Linked DNA regions of Homo sapiens: region 2 is linked to region 1. Evidence: promoter capture Hi-C in 16 types of primary human blood cells and fetal thymus (Javierre and others, 2016). All regions are on one chromosome and are shown on one strand. Each heading gives the region's core, a stretch centred on a gene start or on the middle of the fragment in contact. The rest is flanking DNA. Distances are from core to core; before and after follow the strand shown. Region 1 holds the start of SPTB (spectrin beta, erythrocytic). Region 2 has its middle 49 kb from the start of PLEKHG3.

Region 1 (2,991 bases), core at 270-2,769:
CATGAATGTTTTTGTATCCTCTTTCCCATATTACTAGTGTCTCTTGGAAAATTGAGCTGTAATAAGGATCCAGCCAAGAGGAGGGTGGAGTGAAGAATTCTGTGGCTCTGTAATACCTGGGGCGTTTGTCCCACTCAGCACATCTCAGTGTCTAAATACCCACCCTCAAGAAGTGGGACTGCAGCAGGAAGTGAAGTATCTTTGCATATGTTCAATATATAAACTAAACTCGAACATCTGGCAAACACCCCTTTCCTGGGTGAATTCTGGAAAACAGCACAATTATAATCCCAAGCAAATAACTCAGGAGTAAGACTGTTCCCTTGTTAAGAACACCAGGCAGCATCAGTAAAAGTTAAAACTTCTTCTGCATCTATGCGCTTTTAATCTCCACGGCCATTTCCATAATACCTGAGATTACCTGCGTTGATAGCTGGTGAGAAATCATCCCAGGCACCGCAGGTGGAGAAAAGAGATGAAAGCTACCTCAAGGCGTACACGTAAACCTTACTGAACAATGACCTTGATCGTTAGAAAGTCAAGAAAATGTACTGCCTTGCAAGCTGCCGGTGTTCTATTGAGTTTCTCTCCGGGGGCAACTCGGAGATGCCTTTTTGGCACCATCGGTTCTAGTATTTCCTCTGGCCTGCTGCGCCGCGCCTCATCCAGGCTTGTAGTGAGGCACCCCCACTCGCCCGGAGACCCGGGCCGGCCAGGAGGTGCCAGTGGGCAGGTGTGGCAGCCTGCCTGTTGATTACAGTCCCTACAATGTGCGAGCTCCTTGGGACTGCAGGCTGCGCGCCGCCAGCTTTGCCTGGTTCGTCCTGATTACACTAGGTTTTCGGGCAGAAACAGCGACACTGAGCTCGGGCTGGGGGTGGGGCCCTCGGGCCCAGTGCCCGCCCCCTGCCCTCCCACCGCCAGCCGAGAGAAGCCCGCCCGGGAGCGCGCTTTCTAATGCACCAGCCCCCGGGAACAATCTGTCCCTCCCAAACCCGCCACGGCGGGGGTTCACCTCCCGGGTACCCGCCGCGCCCACCCTATGGCCTAAATGTCTTTTCATATATTTTAAAAACTGAACTGTGTGCAGTGGGGATGCAGGGCGGGAAAGGCTGGAGGGCTCATTTTCGCCACCAGGCTTGCCTCTCCGGGCGCACGAATTAGGCCCGAGCTAGAGTCCAACCCCCTTCCCGCCTCAGGGGGCTCGGGGTGGCGCGGGGTTAGGGGCAATGAACGACGATGGAGGCGCCCCAGGCTCAGCGGCGGGCGGGGAGGCAGAGGCGGGTTCCAGGAGCCGGGCTGAGGCCCGGCAGGTGCCCCCAGGCGCGGAGGCTGATTGGCAGGTGCGTGAGTGGGTGGGGAAGGCGGGGGCTGGGCTTGGCGCTGCGGGAGGCTGCGGCCCCGCCTCCCCGCCCCCGCCGCGGGACTATCTGGTCCCGGCAGCAGCGATGTCCCCCGGCAGGAATGTCCCTCCTCAGATAATGTTATTTATATCTCTGGGCGGGTCCGCGGCTCGGCAGCACCAGGCGCCCGGCGGCCGCTGTGCCAGGAGCCCCGCGCTGCCCTCCTCCCCCTGCGCCGCCGCCGCCGCCACCCCCGGGCTCGGGGTGGCCCCCGCTTCAGTCCCAGGGCAGGTGAGTCCCAGGAGGGCCCGGCGGCCAAGGGAGCTGGGTGCGGGTGCGCAAGGCTGGGACGCGCGGCGCCAGCTCAAAGGAGCGCTGGGCCCAGGGGGCGCCTGACGCGCAGGGCCCAGAGGACCGGGTGGGAGTCCAGCCCCGGTTGTCGGGCGTGGGGTGGGAGGGGTGCGGGGCCCGGGAAGCCCGGCAGCTGCGGCAAAGATCATCCCGGGACGCGGGAACGCGCGCGGGCGTCCGAGGCACTTGGTGCTAGCTTTGGAGAGCGGGATCCCGGAGAGTCCGTCACCCCGGGGCGCAGGGAGAGGGTGACGGGGGTGCGTGTTCTCGTCCGCCTTCTCCAGGACCCCGGCCTGGGAGCGAAGGGGATTGCGCCTCTAGCCCGTCCGACCGCAGCGCTGCTCTCTGCCTTTTTTTGTCCGGCTTCTCAGCCTTGTGGCCGCTCATATCCCTCTTCTGGGGAACTTGGCTGCGCTCTCCTCGGGCCACCCAGCGCCCAGGCAGGAGGGACAGGTGAGGGCAGCAGAGGGGGCCGGGCCTCCGGGTGCTGGGAGCCACCCAGAGAGTGACCCCGTGTAGACCGAGGGAGGAAAGATCCTAGTGCCCCAAGCCATACTTCAAGGACCCCTAGTCTTCCTCTCCCAAAGAGTTCCTCTCTTCCTCTAAGCTTCTCCGGGCTACTCTACCCTCACCCTCCTCTCCAGTTTCCCCTCTTCCTCTAACTTGGTCTTGAGAAATAGCAGAAAGTGGGAGAAATAACAGAAGCTGTAAAACAATCCCCAACTCCCACCAACTCATCCGTACTTCCCAGGCTGGGGAAGCAGCTGCGGGGCTGGAGTGCTGTTTCCCTGACAACGAGCTTCAGGTAGGGCCTTGAGTTACAGCCTATTAATATCCAAACCACTGTTTTCAGTGAGCAATTAGAGGCGCCAGCCAGGAGTAAGGAAAATGAAAAGAAGCCACTGTTTTTTGTACATCTAAATTTTAGATGCATCAGATTGGGGGGTGGGGTGGGGGGATATAGTGACAGCCTTTTTGTACTGAGAATTTCTGTGGGGAGAGACTAGGCTGTCACCTCCAGGTAGGAGGCAGTCATGCAAAACCCCTGCCTGGAGGTAGTCACGATCCGTATTTTAGTTTCTAAGGGAAGAGATTCAGGCGGCTCCCTAATGAGAGGAGTCTGCAAATCAAAGATTTTTAGGCACAGCTCAACTGTCCACTGTCCTATCCTTAGCTTCACAGATGGCTCTGAATTTTATTCTAGAATTCCCTCTTCGCCCACCCCTTCCCCCACTATAACCCAAGGCAGGTCATTTCTTATTTTAGGATTCAGCTTTTATTCTTTTGCTCTGAGTCC
Region 2 (2,991 bases), core at 250-2,749, 220 kb after region 1:
CCAAACTCGCCCAACTGCTGACACACAGATGCAAACACGTGCAATTCAGCCCTTCATGATTTCCAGTCAGATTTCGTTATTAAGCAACTATTTCCTTGCTCATTTTCTCACCTTTCTCTTTCACATTACAGAGAGCCAATTTACACACACACACAAAAGCTTTCGACAGAAGCACAAAAAACAGCCTACTTAAATGTTTTATTGTGGTAACATACATAATATTTATCATTTTAACCTTCACAATTCAATGGCATTAAATACATTCACAATGTTGTATAACCATCACCACTATGTATACCAAAACCTTTTTCATTATTTTTAACAAAAATTCTGTACCCATTAAATAATAACTTCTCTTTTGGCCCTTCCTCCAGCCCATGGTAACCTCTATTCTATTTTTTTTTCTACAAGCAGACGCCACTACGTCTGCCTAATTTTTTGTATTTTTGTAGAGACAGGGTTTCGCCATGTTGCCCAGGCTGGTCTCAAATTCCTGGGCTCAAGCCATCTGCCTGCCTCGGTCTCCCAAGGTGCTGGGATTACAGGGATGAGCCACCACGTCCCACTTTCTATCTTCTTTTCTTTTCTTTTCCTTTTTTCTTTTCTTTTCTTTTTTTTTTTGAGACGGGATTTTGTTCTTGTTGCCCATGCTGGAGTGCAATGGCACGATCTCAGCTCACTACAACCTCCACCTCCTGGGTTCAAGCAATTCTCCTGCCTCAGCCTCCCAAGTAGCTGTGATTACAGGCACGTGCCACCATGCACAGCTAATTTTTTGTATTTTTTGTAGAGATAGGGTTTCACCATATTGGCCAGGCTGGTCTGGAACTCCTGACCTCAAGTTATCCACCTGCCTCGGCCTCCCAAAGTGTTGGGATTACAGGTGTAAGCCACAGCACCCGGCCTTCTATCTTATTTTCTGCCTTACGAATTGGCCTATTCTGGGTACCTGATATAAGTGGGAATCATATAATATTTGTTTTTCTTTGTCTGGATTATTTCACTAAGCATAATGTTTTCAATGTCTATCAATATTTTAGCATATATCAATATTGCATTTCTTTTTTATGGCTGAATACTATTTCATTGTATGAATATAGCACATTTTGTTTATTCATCTGTTGAGGGACATTTGGGTGGTTTCTGCCTTTTGGCTATTGTGAATAATGCTGCTATGAACATTGTGTACAAATATCTGTTCAGGTCCCTGCTTTCAGTTCTCTTGGGTATATACCAAGAAGTGGGATTGCCAGGTCATACAATAGTTCTATGATTAGCCTACAAAAACAACTCACTTTGGAGGATTAAAAAAAAGAATAGCTTTATACTCTCACTTTATTTCATATCTTATGAAATCTTTTTGAGGTGCTTAGAAAAATACACACCATAAAAAGAGATAAAGAGTTAAAGGGGCCGGGCGCGGTGGCTCAAGCCCGTAATCCCATCACTTTGGGAGGCCGAGGCGAGCAGATCACGACGTCAGGAGATCAAGACCATCCTGGCTAACACGGTGAAACCCCGTCTCTACTAAAAATACAAAAAATTAGCCGGGCGTGGTGGCGGGCGCCTGTAGTCCCAGCTACTCAGGAAGCTGAGGCAGGAGAATGGTGTGAACCTGGGAGGCGGAGCTTGCAGTGAGCCGAGATCATGCCACTGCACTCCAGCCTGGGCAACAGAGCAAGACTCTATCTCAAAAAAAAGAAAAAAAAAAAGTTAAAGGAATTGGGGCAAAGGGAAAATAAGGGTAAGAGCTTCCCAGTTAGTGCTTGGGCAGGGCAGATCAGCTCCATCAGAAAACAAGCGCTTGGGGCACACTGCTAGCACTTTCAAAAGGCAGCTTCCAATGCAGATGATTCCAATTCTACACCTTGGCCAAGCTGCCTCTCCAAATGGAGCAGGGCACGTGGGCTTCACTGTATACGCAGACCACGTGGAAGCTGACACCATAACCTTACCCACCGCAGGCTTCTCATGCACTCACAAACCTTCAGCTGGGCCGGTCCTTAGAATTATCTAGGGCAACCCTCTTGATTTCCAGATGACGAAAGTAAGGCTCAAAGAGGTTAAGTGTCCTGCGGAGACACACAGAGCATGTAAGTAGCAGAGCTGATTCACACCCATGTGTCCCACCGACAGCCTAGTTTCTCCGGGTTACCACACCGCCTCTCATTGCCGTAAGTCAGCTTCCCTTTACTTATTTGGGAAACGTATGGGCTGTATGAAATCATTATGTTCTCATTCTTTTTAAACTGTTCCAGTAGTTATGCAGTTTCAAGGTTCTGAAGGCTAAAAGTACTATTATGTGGTATTAAACAAGGTAGACATTAACTGTGACACGGGAGGGATGTCACAAATCCCATTGCTGAAGCTGAAGCTGTGTTACTTATTTTAGAAAACTTTCCATTAGTTGACTTCCCAAATAGAAGTGTTGCTTCCTGGTTTCCCTTGGTGATTTTTTAAATTGTGCTTAAACATGAGTGTCCAGTTGAGACTACATGCAATTCCAGCATAACCAGGCTTGGTAATGACCAGAGCTATTAACCTGTGATGGACCTTGTATCAGCCAAATATTTACCTAGCTCATGCTCACAACAGGTTGGTGGGACAGATCCAACGGCTCCTACTTCAGCTGGGTTTCCGTTTGGATCTTAATGTGAACACAGCTGCTTGGTTTTATTTATGTACATAGATTTTTCTGACATATTTCATCCTTTCCTAAACCAACTACCCTCGGAGACATTGCAACTTGCTCTCTTGCCTCCATGAGTCACCTAAAAACACACTGGTGGTTTCCAGGACTTCCTCAATGTCTTTCTAGCTGTGTCTGGTGTAAGCTTATGGGCTTTCCCTGGCACAAGTTTGACAGATCTACTCACTCATCTTTAATTCAGTTCTACAAACACTGCAGATGTGGTAGAGGATGGTCGTGGGCTCTAGAACAAAACAGCCCTGGTCTAAATCTCAGCTCTTACTTCATAACCTCCAGCAAGT

Evidence for each region. The method cuts DNA at HindIII sites, captures the fragments that hold promoters and counts their contacts. A CHiCAGO score of 5 or more calls a contact.
Region 2: a fragment that was not itself captured here is called in contact with the fragment with the promoter of SPTB in region 1 in 2 of 17 cell types (M0 macrophages and M2 macrophages); the score reaches 5.8 in M0 macrophages.

What each region holds. Positions count from the first base shown.
Region 1 is chr14:64,878,435-64,881,425 of GRCh38, reverse strand. It overlaps SPTB (spectrin beta, erythrocytic), which reads left to right and starts at 1,519. Exons shown (of 36, transcript NM_001355436.2): 1 at 1,519-1,634. LOC105370534 (a long non-coding RNA gene) reads left to right here. Exons shown (of 3, transcript XR_943942.3): 3 at 38-545. RefSeq lists silencers at 899-978, 1,049-1,188, 1,239-1,408. The HindIII fragment of the contact is 2,561 bases long and covers 1-2,303 here.
Region 2 is chr14:64,654,231-64,657,221 of GRCh38, reverse strand. No RefSeq gene overlaps it. Among named protein-coding and RNA genes, the nearest start is that of PLEKHG3, 49 kb to the left of the region's middle. The HindIII fragment of the contact is 2,675 bases long and covers 162-2,836 here.